4 separate regions of the Homo sapiens genome follow, and regions 1, 2 and 4 are each linked to region 3. The links are contacts of gene promoters, found by promoter capture Hi-C in blood cells and fetal thymus (Javierre and others, 2016). All regions are on one chromosome and are shown on one strand. Each heading gives the region's core, a stretch centred on a gene start or on the middle of the fragment in contact. The rest is flanking DNA. Distances are from core to core; before and after follow the strand shown. Region 1 holds the start of PCK1 (phosphoenolpyruvate carboxykinase 1). Region 2 overlaps RBM38 (RNA binding motif protein 38). Region 3 holds the start of ANKRD60 (ankyrin repeat domain 60). Region 4 holds the start of TUBB1 (tubulin beta 1 class VI).

The links. Contacts are between HindIII fragments. The CHiCAGO score rates a contact against its expected background, and 5 or more counts as called.
Region 1: the fragment with the promoter of PCK1 here is called in contact with the fragment with the promoter of ANKRD60 in region 3 in 1 of 17 cell types (M2 macrophages); the score reaches 6.9 in M2 macrophages.
Region 2: a fragment that was not itself captured here is called in contact with the fragment with the promoter of ANKRD60 in region 3 in 1 of 17 cell types (endothelial precursors); the score reaches 5.1 in endothelial precursors.
Region 4: the fragment with the promoter of TUBB1 here is called in contact with the fragment with the promoter of ANKRD60 in region 3 in 3 of 17 cell types (activated CD4 T cells, endothelial precursors and total CD8 T cells); the score reaches 5.9 in activated CD4 T cells.

The regions. Positions count from the first base shown.
Region 1 is chr20:57,557,835-57,563,134 of GRCh38, reverse strand. It overlaps PCK1 (phosphoenolpyruvate carboxykinase 1), which reads right to left and starts at 2,025. Exons shown (of 10, transcript NM_002591.4): 1 at 1,932-2,025; 2 at 1,500-1,763; 3 at 883-1,064; 4 at 236-439; 5 at 1-107. The coding sequence starts at 1,723. The HindIII fragment of the contact is 6,047 bases long and covers 1,321-5,300 here.
Region 2 is chr20:57,397,008-57,401,932 of GRCh38, reverse strand. The region is part of intron 3 of RBM38 (RNA binding motif protein 38); the gene reads right to left. Among named protein-coding and RNA genes, the nearest start is that of RBM38-AS1, 6.4 kb to the right of the region's middle. RefSeq lists enhancers at 1,022-1,121, 1,104-1,967, 2,942-3,031, 3,009-3,508 and a silencer at 3,282-3,401. The HindIII fragment of the contact is 5,250 bases long and covers 1-3,966 here.
Region 3 is chr20:58,225,253-58,230,247 of GRCh38, reverse strand. ANKRD60 (ankyrin repeat domain 60) reads left to right here and starts at 1,595. Exons shown (of 4, transcript NM_001304369.2): 1 at 1,595-2,024. The coding sequence starts at 1,595. The HindIII fragment of the contact is 6,586 bases long and covers 624-4,995 here.
Region 4 is chr20:59,017,381-59,022,387 of GRCh38, reverse strand. It overlaps TUBB1 (tubulin beta 1 class VI), which reads right to left and starts at 2,959. Exons shown (of 4, transcript NM_030773.4): 1 at 2,809-2,959. The coding sequence starts at 2,865. The HindIII fragment of the contact is 6,433 bases long and covers 1-4,218 here.

The DNA of each region.
Region 1 (5,300 bases), core at 776-3,275, 670 kb after region 3:
CGAGTTCCCGCCGTACCCACTGCCAAAGGAGATGATCTCTCTGCGGTCAGGCAGGTGGGCGATGAGCGTCAGCTCCGGGTTGCAGGGCCAGTTGTTGACCAAAGGCTCTGTGAACAAGGACCCCTCCCAAGTCAGTGCGCCAGGGCCCTGCTTGGGGGTCCCCGAGGCACTCACTGGGGTTTGCGTTCAGCTTTCTTTTTTATTTTGACTTTTGATTCTGAAATAATACACTTACTTTGTAAAGGCAGAGGGCACCCCACAGAATGGAGGCATTTGACAAACTCCCCATCGCCCACTGCTTCCAGGACGGGCGTGCCCATCCGCGTCATGATCCGCATGCTGGCCACCACGTAGGGTGAATCCGTCAGCTCGATGCCGATCTTTGACAGAGGCGAGCCCAGCGGCCCCATGCTGAATGGGATGACGTACATGGTGCGACCTACAGGGTGCGATGGGTGGGCACTGGTGAGAAATGACCTTGGACTTCGAACACGACCAGCATTTTTTTCCCAGGTAGACCCATTTTCACGGTGTTCCACTAACACCACCACACCCTGCTGGTCACCAGCCCCCTGGGTTAGAAGAGGCCACTGGAAAGTGAACAGCCTGCTGAAATTAAAGAGTTTTCATAAATGTGCAATTGGGTCCCACCAAGCTATTTAAAACCCATATGCATGGAACTAGTTTTCACGTTTGTATAAGACAGTCTGTAAAAGCAGAAGAGGGATGTGCATTTTCAATACATTGCCAACTTCATGTATGGAACTGAAAGACATCTGAGGTGGTGGGAGCTTCCATTATTGTTTGAATTACCATTAGGATAGATGTAAATAAGAAAAGGCTCTCTGCTGTTTTACCCAATCAAATCAATGTTCCGCTCACCTTTCATGCACCCTGGGAACCTGGCATTGAACGCTTTCTCAAAATCCTCCTCTGACATCCAGCGACCGAGCTGGCTGAGGCCTGTTTTGGGGATGGGCACTGTGTCTCTTTGCTCTTGGGTGACGATAACCGTCTTGCTTTCGATCCTGGCCACATCCCTGGGGTCAGTGAGAGCCAACCAGCTGCAAAAATCACAGGCTTCCTTTCAGCCAAGCACCACGGGCAGCGAACCATCTCCTTCAGTACCGTGGCTTTCCATGCCTAGCAGAGTGCTGAGCACGCTAACAACAGTCCATCAGTGTGAACACACAGACCATCTAAGACATGGCCAGGTGGACATTTACTCCACTAGGACCTGGTCTGTAGGAGAGGGGCTGCCTTTTTTTTAATCAGGAATCTAGTTGGCAGAGCTTTTGTGCACACACCTCATTTAAAGCTTGGGCTGGCCCACTAATGTCACAAAATTCAAGTCTGTATGGTTCTGACCATTGCATTCATCTTCTCAAGAGTCTGAAACTACCCGAAGGCCTTCATTCACCTTTCTCCACCAACTCCCAGGAGACGCAGGGGAGCCCTGCCTGCAGGGTGCTGGGACAGGCAGCGGGGGCCGAGCTTACCAGTTGTCATACTTCTTCAGCCGCCTGAGGATGCCCTCTTCCTCCATCTGGCCCAGAAGCCGCCCATTCTCCTCCTCAGAGCCGTCACAGATGTGGATGTGATCAGGCTGACACAGCTCAGCGTTATTCTCGAGAAACTCCCTCACTGCCTGGGGTAGGCTGTCCAGGCTTCCCTGGACAACTTTGGCCGAGAGGTTCAGGCCGTTTTGCAGCTGAGGAGGCATTTCTGCAGAGTGCTGCTAAGGGGCACGAATGTGAGGTCACCTGAAATAGAAAACGCAAGCGTCCTGAACAAAAACAACAACAGACACCTTCAAACACATTCGACGGCCTTTTGCCAGGGCTGTGCATTGCCAAATAGTTATTGCTCTCAGGAAAAAAATGAGTTCATCTTTGTAATTTTTCAAAATGTAAATGCAAAGCTCTACTTACCTTTCTTCTCTTTGGATGATCTCGAAGGGAGATCCACAGGTTTCTTTCCGGGCTCTTCCCGCCAGCAAGTTTGTGTTCCCAGTGGGAAGGCCGTGCTTGGTGGCAGAACCTCCCAGCTTTAAATACTGTGGAAAAGAATAGCCCTGCCCCTCAGCTGCACCCAGGGAGGCTCGCCACTGACGTCAGGGGGCAGGTCTCTGGATCACGGCCAGGGTCAGTTATGCTTTGGGCCAACTCACTGCAACACGCCCCAGGGAGATAATCATTGAACAGATAGTTGTTAATGAATGCTGGGAGACTTCGAGCCCTCAACCAACCATAGTGAGTTTTGACACAACTTCCAACTGACTAAACCTTGACCCATTTTACTGCTGTTGCAAAACACAACACCCTTTTCTTAACAGGCAGGTGGGTCAAGGACAAGGTTGGCCGGGGCACCTGCTAGCAGCACATTTTGTGTACCAAGAGCTGCTGGTTGGCAAAACACCACAGCTATAAGATGTCACCCCATAGTCAAAGGTCACAGTCAAAGTTCATGGGAAGGATGCACCCTAACTTGGGCAAATATGTGGCTTATTGGCAAAGATTGGAAATGCCTAACCTAACTGGGGGCTAATCACTGTATTGATTGTCTGCTCTGTGCCGCCCCCGCCCCCTGCCCCGATGTAAACTCCATGAGGGCAGGGATTTCTCCCTATTTTGTTCATTTTTCTCTCTGTAGTGCTTGGCATAGAGTAGGCACAGGATGCACACATGCTGAGCACTGTTCTAAGAGCTTGGCATCATTACTACCCTCTGAGGTGGAGGCTATGAACAACCCATGTACAGATAGGGAAACTGAGGCAGAGATTGTGTAGCCACTCACAGCCGGCTGGTGGGTTGCAGAGTGAGGATCTGAACATGAGCAAGTTGGGCCCTGGAGCACCACGTCTCTCCCTGTGAGGTACCGCCACCTTTCCAGAACCTTCCCTGTGTCCTCCAGGGAGTTCTGGGCTGAGTGCAGTTACTCCTGCAGTCCACTGGCCACTGTTCTCTTCCCTGGCAAGTCTTAGAGTTTAGGGAGTGGAGGGGGCTTGGCAGTTTTGCTAGATTATATGCTTAAGCAATGAAACCTTTATAACAGTTGTAAAGAATTTGCTTTGCAAGCCATCAGACCTTCAGTCAAATTTAATGAGCTATGGAAGCTGCTTGCTGGAGTTTGGAGAACACAGGGTGAAATGTCAAAAGAACGGGGCTAGGTCTCAACCCCCCACAGCCAGCCCACACTTCCATGGAAGCCTCTCTACCTAAGATGAGGTCAGGTGGGGACTTGGCCCATCTCCCCGCTGGGGTGTGGGATGATCCCTGAGATAATCCCAGGACTGGGCTTAGAAAGAGCTGCTGTGGCAAATACAAGTCACTGTGAATGGCAGCCTCCGACCAAACTCACTTAGAGAACCCTCCTGGGGGCTTGGGTCACACTGTGTTGGGCGTGGGTCACACATCATCAAGTTCCACCAAAATTATCAACCCATTGCTATGTTTCCTGTATTCAGATTTTATTCAGCCAGTTGTGTCTTTCAGGATAAATATGATATGAGGTGCTTTTTGTTTCATTTGAAGTTATTCCCCGTTTAGGTCACTGGCATTTGTTATTAGTGGTGCTGTCATCCATACATAAGATCGTGTTGTGTCTAAACCCAACAGTGACGTGATGCTCAGTAGCCGAGGCCACTTCGTTAGCATCTGACATCAGTGAATTAGCCATCCCGATGCATGACCACAATTCCGTGACACACACATCACTCCCGGCGAGACTCATCCCACCAAATTGGTAGAAAGTCCCATTTTGCTGATAAAACGGTAACAGGTTTGAGTACCTGAAAGAGCACATAGATTGAAAACAAAAAGGGAAAGCAGAACTCATTTGGAGTCCTAAATGCGACCCATCCATTCCAGGTGCTTATGTTCTGAGTCTTCTGGGAGAGAAACAGCTAGTTCAAGTAAAACGTCAGAGCAGTGAGTCACCAACGACCTTCATCCGATCCTTTCATTACCTGCATTTACAGCGTGGAAGGACGGTAATGATTCCCCCGCAACTGTCCCTTGTCAAAATGTTAAAAAGCAAACATTGGTTTACAGACTTGCCTCAAAGGACAGAGTTCTCTGGAAGAAGAATCATGATAAAGTAGAGGGGTTTTGAGGACACACAGGCAAAAGTATGGGTACAGTTGCCTTAGGTCTTGGCAGATGATGCCCTCGGGCCCCCATTTTTCCTGTCCTTAGAGACTCCCTGCCCCAGTGGGGACTCATTGACAACAATTTCAAGGGGCTGGCCGGAAGCATGGGTCTTCCTCATCTGACTGTCAGCTTATTTGTAAGTAAGCCTCAAAACTAACTACTGTCTGTTGGTTTCAACAGGGACCCGAAGAAGCAGCCAAACAGCCACCCTGCTGGTGGGATCCCTGAGGACCCCCAGTTAACCCGCCGAGTGGACTTTGCAGTGTGTGCTCAGTGGGTGGGGCATGGAGGTGGCTCACGCTGCCTGTGAGTTGCGTTAGTTGTTTCTGGGACGGATGCCATAGAGACCTCCTAGCTTTTGGGGAGCTCCTTAGGCTCAGATTTTCTTAGGTCCAAGGCTGCTCTTCTTTTGAAAAATGTATAAAAAGTTGAGCCCAGATACAAAATTGGGGAAAGAAGGAGAAAGAAAGATCGGACACTAAAATAGTTTCAAACTAAAAGGGACTTCCTCCCTGCACCTTCCTGGGGCCACTCCATGTTTTGCAGTTACTCAGGGATATCGATTGCTTTTTCCCTGCTTTGTGACCACACCAGCTATATCCTGATACGAGATAATTAGACGGATTTAAAAAGGTAAAGAGAAGTTTTGCATCCAATTTGCTGCAATCTCATATTCTCTAGGAAGCCTCAGCTCAAACGTTTATTAAATGCTTGCTATGTCTCTAGCACCGGGCATAATAATCTTCATAATACTGGGCTTTCTCTGCATGCCAGAAATGGGATGCATTCCATGATTTTCTCCGATGTAGGTACCTTTGTTATCTTTCCCATTTTATAGATGAGGAAACTGAGGGTCTCAACCCAGCTGGGTATAGACGAGGGTCGAGAAAGGAATCATATTCATTCCTTCAACAGTGAATGAGCAGCTACTATTGCCAGTTCTCTAGATGTGTCCTCAAACTGAGAGTCCTTTTCCTGTCTATACTCCCAGCACATAGTCATCAAGCACTTGCTGAGCACCTACTTCATACTGATCCTAGGGTCCACTTCATAGTCTCAAGAGCATGCCTCACTCTTGGAAGGGGGCTCTTCTCTTGGAGTTTCATGCTCTGGGGTCACTGTCTTGAAATTCATAGTGATCTTCTAAGT
Region 2 (4,925 bases), core at 92-2,591, 830 kb after region 3:
CACCTCCAGAAGCAGAACCCTCCAGCTGCCTCCCACTGTACCCAGAAGAAAACCCAAACTGCTCCCTTGTGGCTTCCTGCGTTATTAGGCCTCAACCTACCTCTTCTAACTCATCTCCACTTGCACTGCGCCCTCCCTGGCCACACTCCCACTGCCCTGGGCTCCTTCTGTTCCCAGATTCGACTCCTTCCCACCACAGGACCTTCGCACCTATGCACTTGCTTCTTCCCACAGCTCAAAGCTCACCCCTCAGGGGTCCACCCAGGCGGCTCTGTTTCCTTATGATCGGAAGCCCCTTCATCATCTACCTTGCACAATGTCTTCCCCACAAGAGCAGGGTCTCAGCTGCTGCGTCCCAAGTGCCCCAGCACAGCAGGTGCCCAGTGCTGAGCATCTGAGGCAGGCCCCGGCTTTGCAGGTAGCTGGGAGGCAAAAGAGCCCCCCCGTGGAATGGCCTCTGCTTCCCAGGCCAAGAGTCCCTGCCCCAAGAAGGCAGAGAAAGCAGTTCAGCCTTGAGCAGCCAGGGCTGGGCAGGCTGGAGGGACAGGCAGGCACGGCTCCACCCAGCAAGTCACAGCTAGACAGGCACAGCCCGCCAGCCTCTGCTCCCCGACCAGGTGCCTGGCGGCCCCGGGTGACCTCATCACTGCCTCTGGGGAACCACACGCCCCAGGGGGCTGCTGTGAGGATCTATTGCTTCTGTGCACCCCAGAGACTTCAGCAGCATCGACGCCTCCTTGGGCCTGAGGAATGCTGGGAGGGACAGAGGCCCTCCCTCTCCTAGGACTTTCAGCCCCAGGTCAGGGGGCAGCAGCCAAGAACCCTTGGTGAGCAAAACAGACCAGCGGCCAGGCGCAGTCAGGTAGGAGCCCAAAGGTCGGGGGACCCAATGCTCATCAGGGCTGCTCCTGTTTGGCCAGGGCCCACCGGCCTCTTTGGGCACACGGCACTTGCTCCCTCCTCTAGAAGCCACTTTGGAATCGGCCCTCTGTACGGCCGCTGCTGGAGTCCCACGCGCTCCCCAGGGTTGCAGAGCCACAGCCCAGCTGTAACCTCAAAGGAGAGGGCAGGAGCCTCCTTCCCTTCCAGTTTCCTTCCAAGTTCCGGCCTCAGAACAACCGGGCGTCTGTGCCTCCTCATCCTCTGCAGAAAACTTCTATCCTCCCACCAAGACCCCAGAGAAGGGTCTTGCACCAATCAGAGGCGGATCTGTTTACCAGAGAATTAATCCCACCACGTGTGCAAAGTCCAGGCAGAGCCAAGGAAGAAACCACAGGAATGGGTGGGACAGACCCCCCACATGCCACCCAAGCCCCACTGCAACGCTGGACACTGGGCACAGGCACCTAGCTGGGGTCCGGGGTGTCTGCGGAAGGATGACTCAGGGGTTCTCTGCTTCCCTCTAGTGCCGGAGCCTGGGCAACACCAAACCCCCAAATCACGGAGCCACTGAAACGGGCCACCATTAGGGCTGGAAAGGCCAGGCCATGCCGGGAGGGTTGGGCATGCAGGAGGAGCTGGCTCTGCCACAGCCCAGGAGAGGACAGGGGGACCCCGAGCCTGGTCCAGACTGGAAATCTGAGGTGCCTGCCTCCCTTCCCGTTCACACGTGGCCCAGGCAGCATTTGCACCCCAACACACCCAGGGTCAGCACACAGTCAAGAGCACCCCAGCTGACTCTGTCCACAGAGACTCAGGGGTCCAAGGGCAGGAAGAGCCCCAAGCCCGGATCCTGGCCATGCCTGTCCAAGTCGCATGGACCATCACTCAGCCCCTCCGGCCTCTGTTTCCCCATCTGTAAACTAAGGATGCTGCAGAGTCCAACAGATTGCCCCCAAGACAGAGGGCTTGGGCCTCCGGCAGAGTCTGAGAACCCCGTGGTGGGCGGGAGAGAGAAGTACAGATGGTGCTGGGGACACATGCTGCCCACACTCAAAGCAGAACTCGCAGCGAAAAGAACTGACCACGGCCCAGGAGGACTCATTTTCTGAACATAAAGTCGCCTCTGAAAATAAAAACGAAAAAGGCAAATGAGCCCATTTCACTTTCCCTGCTCTCCAGGGGCCTTGCCCCACCTCGGCAGAGACGGACCGCAGCTCTTAGGGTTCTGACTCCCGCCTGGCTGGGTGTGGGAAGGTCCCCGAGGCGCCTGGCAGGCAGGAAGCCAGGCCATGGCCCTGCCTCCCGGGAATCCCCAGTGACTTGTGAGGGGGAGGGCCGGGAGGTCTAGGGACATTCAAGTTCTGTGGGGCAGCCAGCCACAGGACACAGGTCGAACGCCCTCTCTGTGGGGCAATGCCAGGCCCGGAACAGCATCTCCACCTGAACCGGCCCAAACTCCAACTCCTGACCTTCTCCCCAAAACTGTACTGCACAGCTGCCTCCACCCCAGTCAGGGCCAAGCCCATCTCCCATTTCAAAGGCCCAAAGCTCCAGAATCTTCTTGGACTCCTCTTTCTTTCCCAGGTTCTTTAAAATAGACACCCAGAATCTCACTGTATCTCACCAGGGCCGCTGGTGCAGGCAGCACCCTCGTCTCATGCCTGGATTACTGGGCATCCTCTAAGGGCCTCCAACCACCACAATACCCTCGGCAGTCCAGGCTCAACCCAGCAGCCAGAAGCAAAAACACTCTGAAAACAAAAATGCAGACTGACCCATCCCTCCTCCGCTCGGAGCCTGCGTGGTCCGGTGTCACTTGGAGGAATGTAGCAGTGCCTCCCTGGGTCATCAAAGTCCTCTAGGAGCTGAGGCTACCCTGTCGGGCCCTGAGCCTCCCCGGCTGCTCCCTTCCCCTCCCCAGCTCCTGTCGCCTTCTGAGGCATGCTGACCTCCTTTGTCTCTGTCCTCCTCTCAGCACCTCGCTGCAGAAAGCACTGTGATTAGGAGCTGGGACCGGGTCTCCCCTCACCCCCATGGCAGGCATCCCCAGCCTGGCACAAAGCAAGCAAAGATCTGTCAGACAAGCTGACCCAGTGTCCAGCTCCCTACTCTATCCAAATGAGATCAGCAGGAAGGTCCTGATGCCCGCAAGCACACTGCAGAGTTATCAGCCTGTCCACCCTGGACACAAGGTGAAACTGAGGCTAAACGAGGAAAGCTCGAGCTTGGGCCTCCACTCAGTCTGTGATCAGGCTTCTACCCTGAGACAAAGCTGTGCCCCTTGGCCCAAGGCTTCCAGAAGAGGCTCCCCAAGCCCAGCAGCGAGCCAGGGTGAGAACTCATGCTCGGAGAAGAGCCCCCGCCACCCAAAGGCTGCTTTCTGTTTCAGCAGACAGGACAAACAACAGGTGCGGCACGGGCGCCCGCCCAGGAGGGCCACGGTGCAGCCCACGCCTGGCTCCAGATGAGCTGCCAAACAGGAAGCCTTGTGGGGGGGCAGGGGGGCGGCGGGGCCACCACGAGACACCCTGAGGGTGAAAACGTGACGCCACAGTGTTGGGGGGAGTCACTTCCTCCCAGCCCCCATGCCGCCTGGCTCTGACCTCAGCTTCTGCCCCTGCCCTGCGGTGCTCACCCTGTGCCCGCCACGGCGACCTGCAGCTGGCCTGTCACCCTGGGCCTGGGCTGCTCGCTCTTCCCCAGAAGCCAACAGGGCCCATTTCCGCCATCCTCAGTGGAGCCTTCCCCAGCACGCCCGCACACGTGTGCGTGCGTACACACACACACACACACACACACACGCCATCACCTGCAAACAGCTCCTCTGGCTTTGTTTCACTTTGTATTATAAAATAATAAAAGACTCCCAAGAAGTTGCAAAAACAGTACAGAGAGATCCTGTGTACCCTACCTCCTCCATCCCCCAAGGGCACATCAGAGTAACTAAGGACATGAGCAAAACCAGGACACTAACCCAGGCACACTGCTATGACCTGGACTGCAGGCCTTCAGCACGCTGCATCATCTTCTACACACACCAACATTCTTACATGTCATGTGTAGTTACACACAAACTGTGAAGCTTTATCACACACACAGACACATCTCCCCACCACTGTACTCGAGACGCGGAACTGTTCCGTCCCCACGCAGGCACTCATTCCGCCAGCTTCCTGTTTAACTGCACGCATCACCATGTGGGCCCACGAGTGCACAAACAGAATGTGAGCACGAGATCGGGGACCGTGTCTTTCTTATTCAAAGGATCCCTGGCACCAGGTCTGGCATACAGCAAGCACTCAATAAACACCTGATGAATGAATGATGCTGGGAGTAGCTGTCGACATTCTCCCCAGCTTGTGCATCCCATGCTCTCAAGGAGACAGACATCTTCCCATCACTGCCTCCCCAGTACGTCCTCTTGCTCTGGGGACCCAGGTGCTCTGTCCAGGCCCCGTGGTGTGCACACACCAAGGCCCCGTGATGGTAAGGGCAGCCATCTACTACCCAGTGGGCACCAGAGACCTTCACACAAAGGACGTAGGGGTCCCTGAAACTATACATGCAGTGGGGCAGGCACATGCCTGGGAGAGGGTCTCACGGTCATCATCAGTCTCGAGGCCTTGTGCTCTGAATCATCCAAGAGCTGCCATCTAGCCAGAGGGAGGCGTTGAGTCCTTGTGGGAGGGACAAGAGTCTCGCAGCCCACAGCTCAGGCCCCACCATCCTGGGATGTGTGAACTCAGCAAGTCTCTCAGTTGCTCTAAGCCTCGGTTTTGCACAGGTAATCAATCAACAGACCCTGAAGCAGGGCCGGCAAGAGATGCGTCACTGACAAACCGTGACTTCCCAGGGCCAGGCCCTCCACACACAGTCAAGTTGGCCCTGTAGGGAAGGCAGTGTGACCGTTCTCACTCACAGATGGGGAGGAGCCTGCAGAGACAGGCTGGGCCTGGCCTTAAGCCCAGGCAGACCCCCAGGGCTCTTGCTCCTGGATACAGCCTGTACCTGACACTCCGGAGTCCGAGGAGCCTGTCTTCTCA
Region 3 (4,995 bases), core at 346-2,845:
GGCAGCGTCGGCAAAAAGTGAGTTAATAAATCAGAAGCTACATATTAAAAAAAAAATCAGTCAATCCGTCGTGTGTTTAATTCTTGCCTAAAGTAAATGGAGATATTGTTTTGCTTTGGTAACCAGCAATTTTTAATTTTTTTTTATTGCCCGCAAATTGAGATTGTTTTGTTAAAATCTGTTGATCTAGCAGCAAGTAGAATTATTCAACTGGAATCTTGTATTCTATTCAGAGCTTAATTTTCCGTTAAGGAAAAAAATGAGCTTCAGTTTGTGTTGTGATGTGTATAATTTGCATGCTGAATCACAACATGCTTGGAGAGATTGTAGAGACTCTTTGGTAAATAATCTAACCTTTACAATTTCCGTTTATATGTTAACATTTTTCTATAATATGAGTGCCTTTCCAATGCACAGATATTTTTTATGGCTGTAATTTCTCTGTAAAAATAATTTTTAAGCATACATTTTATTCTTTTTTTGCAACAACCGAGATTTTTCCAAGATTGTTCTGTTTCCCCTCGCCCTCCTAGCTCCCGCCCCCGTCACTTCGGCGCTTGTATTTTCTAATTATTCATGGGTGCCATGTTGAGTGTTTGTAATTTGACCACCACAGGTAAGCTTCCTGTTTACTTGAACACTCAGCCTCATCTCCGGTGAATGAAGGGAAAAGCACAGATGGGTTTCTCCCAGGCACAGCTCACTCCAAAGGTGTCTTCATAGAGCCAACCCAGCCTTTCTCAAGGGAGCATTTCCCCACTTAATGTGTTTATCAGCATCTTTCTTCCGCCAAGAATTCAAGAGCATTTTCAAAATTGATAGATTTTGGTGCAGTTTTGCAAGTTTCCGTGGAAGGCTGTCTCCCGCTTCTGGGATCCACCCCCATGTCGGGACCAGATCGGCTGCAGGGAGTCATGTTTATGAAATGTTGGTGGTTTTTTTTTTTTTTCATTCATACTAGAAGTGTTTTTATAACGAAAATCTGCACTTTACAACTCTGCAGGCCATGCATGCAATGGTGATTTACAGCCTTGTTTACGTGTAATTCCTCCAGGTGATTTATCCCAATTTATGCAAAGATCCTATTTTAAACAGACACGGAGAAGTGGTAACCGTTTCCTAACAGCAGCAAGAATGCCCCTTCCGTTTGCCTGGTGAAAAGAACTGACATTAACAGCAGCTTGGAGGCTTCGAGGAGGTGGGGACGTGGCCTGAGCTCGGGACGGGGGCCCAGTGCGGGTTGTCGGAGCGTGGCTGCCCGGCGATGTCTCTGTATTTATCAATAAATCTCCCGGTTGCTCTGGGAAGCACTTATGTCCTGTTCCATTATTTAAGAACCGTCTCCCGCGGCCGCGTGAAACTGCGGCTTTGTTCATCGCGGAGCGGGAAAGGACTGCGGGACCTTGGGGGGCCGCCCGCCCATCGGTCTCCCTGGAGGCTCGGGCGGCAGGCAGGGAGGGGCCTCGCCTTGCGTCTGGAGGGGGCGGTCCTGGCGGGGCCTGGGCGTCACAGTGGGGCGGGGGGCGCATGGGCCCGCCTTGGGGCGTCAGGGCGGGGGCGGCGATGACGCGTGGCCACCGCACTCGAGCCGCGGATGACGCGCGGCCGCGCCTGGGGGATGCGGCGGGCGGCGGCGGGGGCGGGCGGAGCGCGGGCGGCGGGGCCAACTGGGGGCGCCTCTCGCCTGCACCCCAATGCGGGACGCAGGAGCGGTGCGCGGGCCGGGGCTCAGGGGTGCGGCGGGCCCAGGGTGGGCTCGGCGGACTCGCGGGCCCTCCCCGCGCAGCCCCTGGCCTGTGCCCGCGGCCGGAGCCAGCGGCTCGTCTGTGACCCGAAGGCCGCGAGTGCCTTGCCCGACTTGGCCCCTGACGTCTTCGTCCTGCGGGTGCGGCTGGAGGAGACGGGGGAGATGTTCCGAGTGGCAAACTGCCGCGGCGACATGACCGTGCGGGAGCTCAAAGAGGAGCTGGACCTGATGGTCGGCATCCCCTTCAACCTCCAGCGGCTCCAGTACCTCGACGAAGGTGGCTCCTGCCCTGACTCCTTCCCTGGCCACATGCAAGGGCACCCTGTCCACTTCTGAAGTGGATTCCCAAAGGGAAGCCTGCTTACGTGAGAAACCCCAGATGTCAAAGCAAACCCCTGAAACCCAACCACCCTGAAACCCAGATGGAAGGGCCACTTAGGGTCCTGGCCACAGAGGGACTTCCCAATCTCAAACACACGGCGTTCAAATTGGACTCCCAATCAAGGCAAACCTTGTCCACAGCAGGACCCTAATCCACAAGCAGGTCCTGCCTGGATCGGGCTGCATCTGCCAACCCTGAGCAAATCCTGTCCAAGCCAGGACCCCCCAGAAGCCAGACCCTCAGGCTCCCCATGTCTTCATAAGGAACCCAGGTCCCAAAGCCAACTCTGTTCATGTAAGACTTGTCTGAAACAAGGCCTGTCCTCAGCAGAACCCCCAAACCCAAGGCAAGCCTGCCCATGTCAGTACCCCAAACTCAAAGCAAACCCCAAGTCCTCCTCCATGCTGGTCTTGAGAACATTAGAACCCCAAATCCTCTAGCCAACCATGTCCACGCAAGCATGCCAAACCTGAAACAAACCCTGCTGACCTCAGGACCCACAAATCCAGAATAAAATTGCCCAACACCGAACCCCAAATCTCTAGGCTAACCATGACTACTTCAGAACCCCAAATCCTCCAGCTACCACATCCCCCCCAGGATGCCAGGGCTTGAACAAACCTTGACCACCTCAGGACCCCAAAATCCAGAGCACACATGCCCAACTGAACCCCAAATCTCCAGGCTACCCATGACTACCTCAGAACCCCAGATTTTCCAGCCACTTTTGTCTTGCAAGGATGCCAAATCAAAACAAACCCTGTCCATCTCAGGACCCCAAAATCAACAAACCAGCCCAAGACTCAACCCCTAATCTCCAGGCTAACCATGACTACCTCAGAACCCCAGATCCTTCAACAACTGTGTCCAGGCAAAGAGGTCAAAGCTGAAACAAACTCTGTCCAGTTTAGGACCCCAAAACCAAGAACAAACCTGGCTAAATCTGAAATCCCAAATTGCCAGACTAATTATGTGACTATTAGAACCCCGAATCCTCCACAACCATGTCCACACAAGGATGCCAAGATCCGAAACAAACGCTGCCTGCCTCAAGACCCCATATATCTCTATGCAACTTCTGCCCATGTTTCAGCCTCAAACCCTGAAGCTATGCCTGGCCATAACAGAACCCTAAATCCCAGAGCAGACTCTACCCACGTCATGACCCTCAATTGCCCAATTCTGGACCCCCGGCCTCCAACTAACCATTTGTGCATCTGAACCCCAATCCATTAGCCACTTCTGTCTACATAAGGATGACAGAGCCCAAAATGAACCCTGCCCACATATGGACCCCAAAATTCAAAGCTAACTCTGCTCACATCTAAAAGGCAGTCACCGAGCTCACCATGACCATACCAGAACCCAAATCCCCTCAAAGTATCTTCATAAGGGCTCCAAAGAATGAAGCAAACTCTGTCCACAGCAGGACCCCAAAGCTCAAGTCAAACCCACACATATCTGAACCCCCAGATACGAAACCGTGTCTACATCAGCACTCCAAGGTTGAAGCTGGCCATGTCCATGTCAGGAAGTCAAGGTTCAAACAAAACCTTGCCTCCATGAGTACCCCAAAACTCAAAGCAAACTTTTCTTGTATATGTAACCCAAATCCTTCAGCCAACCTTATTTATACCAGAACCCCAAATTCCAGACCAAACCCTGCATATAGCAGGAGCCCAAATTTTGAGCAGATTTTATCACCATGAAGACCCCCAAATCTCAGGGCAGATGTGCTCGATTCCTACCCTCCAAATGCTACACTACTCGGGGCTACATCAGATCCCCACATCCCAAAACAAGTCCTGCCCATACGAGGACTCCAAATCCCAGAACAGACCTTTTCACATCAGGACCCCAAACAGACAGCAAACCTTACTTTAATCAGAACCCCAAATCCAGAGTAAACTGCCCTCACAGGAACCCGAGTCTCAAAGCAAATGCTGCTATCTACGTTTGAACCCCAAATAGTGGCAACTAACCCAGTACATATCAGAACCCCAAATTCCAAGCTGTGTCCTTGTTCACATCGGGAGCTCAAAGCTAGCCCAGCTGGAATCAGAACCCAGAACCGAAAGTTCCCTGTGACTGAATTAGGACCCCAAGGGCCCCACTCCAGACAAGTCCCATGTGGCAGATACCCAGTGGAGGCCAGGCACCCTAGAGCCCATCTCTCCTTCCATCAGTCTCCTTCCCTGACCCGAAGGCGTGGCTTTCCCTATCCCGATTCCCTACAATATTTAGGATATGAGAACAGGATCAAAGTCCCTGGGCTCCATCATCTCCCCACCTGGTTGAAATCAACGCAACACACTTCAAGAAAATGAAGATATAGAAAAAATCTCTGAGCTGCTGCTGCACAGAGAATGTGAACAGCTGATATTGCAGAGAGACTGCAGCTGTACTGCAGGGGCTGGGGAGCGATGGAGACAGATCTGAAAGCAGCCTGCCTCCACGGGCTTGGTGCTGCCAGACACTGCCCTTCTGGGCTCAGTTTCCTAATCCGTAACACAGAGAAACCAGCTCTGGAATTCTCGGAGCCGTTTCCCCCTCTGGACAGAAATGACGCAGGAAACTCAAAATGCACAGTGAAGGCCAAAATACCTTCCTTTTCTCTCTTTAAAATAGGTTAAGCACTTTTCCTGACGTATTTATTTTCCTATAGGAGTGTTTGGAAGATGCTCTCGAGCATTTTTGAGGCTTTATTTGGAAAGAAATGTGTTTTGAGCCTACTCTGTATTTAACATATTAAAAGTGAGGAGAGTTGTTGAAGGACTTAGTAAGAGTTCCCAAACAAGTAATTTGAAAATTATGTATCCTCAACTACAAATGCCTGGCACCCCTTCTGTTCATTTGTTTTCACTGA
Region 4 (5,007 bases), core at 1,710-4,209, 790 kb before region 3:
TCCAAACAGCCCATAACTTGGACCTCTGTGCATGATTTTAAGTAATTAGCGCCTTTTTTTTTTTTTTTTTTGATGGAGTCTTATCTGTGCAGTGGCGTGATCTCGGCTCACTGCAACCTCCGCCTCCTGGGTTCAAGCGATTCTCCTGCCTCAGCCTCCTGAGTAGCTGGGACTACAGGCACGCACCACCACGCCCAACTAATTTTTATATTTTTAGTAGACACGGGGTTTCACCATGTTGGCCAGGATGGTCTCTATCTCTTGACCTTGTGATCCACCCTCCTTGGCCTTCCAAAGTACTGGAATTACAGGCATGAGCCACAGCACCCGGCCTTTCTTTCTTTTTTTTATTTTTTTATGTTTGTTTGTTTGTTTGTTTATTTATTTATTTTGAGACAGAGTTTCACTCTTGTCACCTAGGCTGGAGTGCCGTAGCACAATCTTGGCTCACTGCAACTTCCACCTCCTGGGTTCAAGCAATTCTCCTGCCTCAGCCTCTCAAGTAGCTGGGATTACAGGCGTCCACCACCATGCCCAGCTAATTTTTGCATTTTTAGTAGAGACAGGGTTTTGCCATGTTAGCCAGGCTGGTCTCAAACTCCTGACCTCAGGTGATGCACCTGCCTCGGCCTCCCAAAGTGCTAGGATCACAGGCGTGAGCCACTGTGCCCGGCCAGTAATGTGCATTTTTGATTGTCAGGTATACATACAACTCACAATTACACATAGTTGTCCTCTGGTAACTATTTGAAACATACTGCACTTCCAGTCACATACACAGTACTTATTAATATAGATATGTGCCAAGCTCTTAATATGGAAACAGTTACTGGGAAGACTCCTTTTGATCACCCTGAAAGGCACATATTAAAATGCAATGAAAATGTATTCACATATATTAAAATCCCCAAGGGTATGTTAAAAACCCCAGCCATATCTTCTAAATGACAGTGCTGCTCTGGCCATGGTCTTAATAACAAGGCAGTTCATGGTAAACTGCCAGCACTGTTCAGGGAGTGGAAGAATAAATAAATTCAAGTTCTAAGATACCCCAAATTAAATGTGTCTTAAAGTTCTTATATCTCTAAATGATGAGTCAGCCAGGACTCTCAACGCTAGACCATACGATTCCAGAGTGAGAGCTAAAACCCTATCTAAACCTAACACTTTCTCTTGAGGGCCCCTTTCCGTATTATCTTCCAGCTTCAGAGCAGCAGGGCTCCTGCCTCCCACTTCTCTGTGTGTGAGTTATGAATGTCTTACCCCTGAGGCATGGAGGAATGGTGACTTCTTTTCAAGCAGTAATGTTCCTTGCCCCCGGTTTAAAACGCCTGCATTTAAAAGCCTTAGTTGTTTCCTGGCAGCATTACTCACAGTAGCCAAAAGGCAGAAACAACCCAAGTGTCATTGATGGATGATGAATGTAGGTGTTTCAAAACCTCACTTTTAATGCATCTCATATTAGTAAAAGTAATTTCACAGCAGCAAAGAGAACACGATAAATTTTGCACGGTGCAATTGGTCATCTTAAAATCAAGATTGGAGATTGTGGGTTCGGGCATCTGTGTTCTTGGGGTTGGCCAATTAAGTTACGTACTTGGGGGAAATTTTTAAGCAGGGGGGCAAGGGAAAGAAAAACTCATTTATATTCCAGACAGTGTATTTTAATTAATTATGTTACTGTACACAAAAAACTTTTATTTTCAATTAAATTTCTTAAATTTTCAATTGCATACTAATAAAACAGTAATTGATTTTTTTTAAGCGTTACAATAAACATGAGAGGGGAGGGGAAAGACACCATAGTGACAGGGTACAGAAAGTTTCTCAAAAAACTTCAAAAAGCTGTTTTGAGACAAATTACTGTTTTTAGATATGAAAAGTTCATTGTTAAGATAAAAGTGGGCCAGGTACAGTGGCTCACGCCTATAATCCCAGCACTTCGGGAGGCCCAGGCGGGCACATCACCTGAGGTCAGGAGTTCGAGACCAGCCTGACCAACATGGTGAAACCCCATCTCTACTAAAAATACAAAATTAGCCAGACGTGGTGGCGCATGCCTGTAATCCCAGCTACTGGGGAGGCTGAGGCAGGAGAATCACTTGAACCCAGGAGGTGGAGGTTGCAGTGAGCCAAGATTGCGCCATTGCACTCCAGCGTGGGCAACAAGAGTGACACTCCATCTCAAAAAAATAAAAGATGATAAAAGTGCCAGGCACGGTGGCCTACACCTGTCATCTCACCACTTTGGAAGCCTGAGGCAGAAGGATCACTTGAGCCCATGAGTTCAAGACCAGCCTGAGCAACAAAGTGAGATCCCTGTCTCTCAAAAAAAAATTTAAAAATTAGCCAGGCATAGTGGTGCATGCCTGTAATCCCAGCTACTCAGGAGGCTGAGGCAGGAGAATAGCTTGAGCCCAGGAGGTTGAGGCTATAGTGAGCCATGATTCTGCCACTCTACTCCAGCCTGGGCAACAGAGTGGGCAAAGAAAAAGATGATAAACGTATTATGTAATATAATGGTCGGCATGTATTGTACATATGTATCTATGGATAAAATTAACATTAATTAAATTAACACTCTAAGCACTTAATGTGTGTTGTAGCTCTTTAGTTAAAGATTGTTTCCTTCTTTTCCCATGTGAAATTTTTTTTTAAGAATTAAAGCCCAAAGGCATTGTCTGATATTTAGCAAGTACATTAAATCTGCTAGACTTATTGTCTTCCCTGCTAACTTAGGGTATTTTTTTGGTTGTCCGCCTCTATGGACTGTGGTAAAGCTAGGATTAGTAACCAGACATTACTTACCTTGGCTCCGATCTGGTTGCCACACTGGCCAATCTGAATATGGACAATTTCACGCATCCTTGCTCTGAGCCCAAGTCTGAGATCTTCACGGAATCCTCAGACTCTCAGAATCCAGAGCTTCGGTTCACTGGTGTGAGCCCAACACAACTGTGGTCACTGCAGTGGTGGGACTGGCCAACCAAGCTACCCTCACAATGTGACCAAGGGTGTGTCCACCCCAGAGGCCCAGCTCCCCGCCCTCAGCCAGTCCTGGCCCTTCTCTGCTTTCTGCCTGTCATGCTTTTGGAAGGGAGTGTTTTTCCTCCCTCAACACAGAATACTGCCCCATCATTTCCTAGAGAGTGAGTGCAAGATTAAAGGCCACCTCGGGGCACAGGGCCTGGAGGCTGGCACTGTTTGCAGGCTTCTAGGTGACCATGCTGGCCCTAGTGACCGTGGTATGATGACTGTGGCTCCTAGCTCACCCAGGTAACCAGACCACCTCCAAGGGCTTTCCCTGTCCATCTTCCCGGCCCCTTTTCCAGACTTTGGTCCCCAGAAGCCCCGTGCCCCGCCACAGCAGGAGGCTCCACAACTGGGCCTCGCAGGTCCCAGGTCCCGGGATGGCCTGCATCAGGCACTGTCTGCCCGCCCTCCCCCACATGCCCTCTCTCGCCCTGTATGCAAGTTACTCTGCAGTGTCCTGCAGGTCTCTTGGACCCCTGCCCTATCCATGCCAGGGCTGGGCTGTGCCCCAGCACCCTTCCCAGCCCCTGCTCTGTCGTCCCATCTCAGCTCATGGTGTCTGGGGTCTTAATGTTTGCCATAGGGTCCCTTTACCAGACCCTGAATTCTCCAAGAGCAAAACGGACTCCCAATTGTATTCCCTTAGAGCCGGGTGTGGTGGCTCACTCCTGTAATCCCAGCACTTTGAGAGGCCAAGGTGGGCAGATCACCAGAAGTCAGGAGTTCAAGACTAGCCTGGCCAACATGGCGAAACCCCATCTCTTACTAAAAATACAAATATTAGTCAGGTGTGGTGGCACACACATGTAGTCTCAGCTACTCGGGAGACTGCGGCAGGAGAATCGCTTGAACCTGAGAGGCGGAGGTTGTAGTGAGCCGAGATCATGCCACTGCACTCCAGCCTGGGCGACAAAACAAGACTCTGTCAGAAAAAAAAAAAAAAGCATTCCCTCATGCGGTGTACAGGAGTGGCAGCAGGCTGGGTACTCAGCAGCTTGAAAGCAGCTGTTCTGTCTCCTGGTCCTCAGTACCTCCCCTGCCACCAAGTTTCTATCATCGTCGAAAGCCAGCCCTAGGCTTTATTACCTCCAACCAGGCAAGGGCATCCAGGCCAAACACCAGCTCCATATCCTTGCCCAGGAGGGTGGCAGTTCCCCACCGCCTGGAGGACAGAAGGTGGAAGCTTCCAAGGAAGATGGGGAAGGGACTCCCTGAGAAGGCGTGAGAGCCCTGGCTCGGAAGGGGAGAGCCAGTGGACGCTGCCTTGTGCCTGTTGAGCTGTCGAGGTGCAGGTGGGCAGGTACAGGGCAAGGCCTCACTCCTGAAGCCCCGAGGATGTGGACAACCACCATCCGGTGAGCAACCACCTCTTGAGGCCTCTCTTTAACGTCTGCCGGGCACCCTGAGGTTGCCCCCATTCTTTGAACAGCTATGGACGGGGACCTGTCATAGGCTGGGCTCACCTTGGGCGCTGCAGACAAGGGAATGAAGGAGGTAGATGTGGCCAGATCCTGCACTCTTGGAACTCTGGCTTACTTAGGAAGAGAGCACTCCTAGCTCTGGAGCAGCTCAAGGACACCATCTCTCAGGACAGGGACTCAGGACAGGCAAGACTACTGAACTCAGAGCGAGAAGCCCTGGAGGTCCTTCCCTCCCCTGCCTCTCGCCAGACCCGTGACCTTGGTTGAAGCATTGGAGCCCAGCCTGGTCCATGAGGGGCCTGTGCTTCCTGTGCCCCAAGCCCAGGCTTGACTCCTAAACCTTGTGTTCCTTCTACAGGCCTGGTGGGGCCCAGGATGTGAGGTCAGGAACACAATCAGGAAAGTTCCTAACGATGGAGTGTCTGGGGGAAATCGCTTCTGCTTACTCCCAAAGGAGCTCAAACACACAGCCAAAGGGCCTGAGCTATAAACCAGAAGAGAAACCCAGAGGTGGGGAAGAAGAAAGCACTGTGTCCTAAGAGTGCCTGGACTG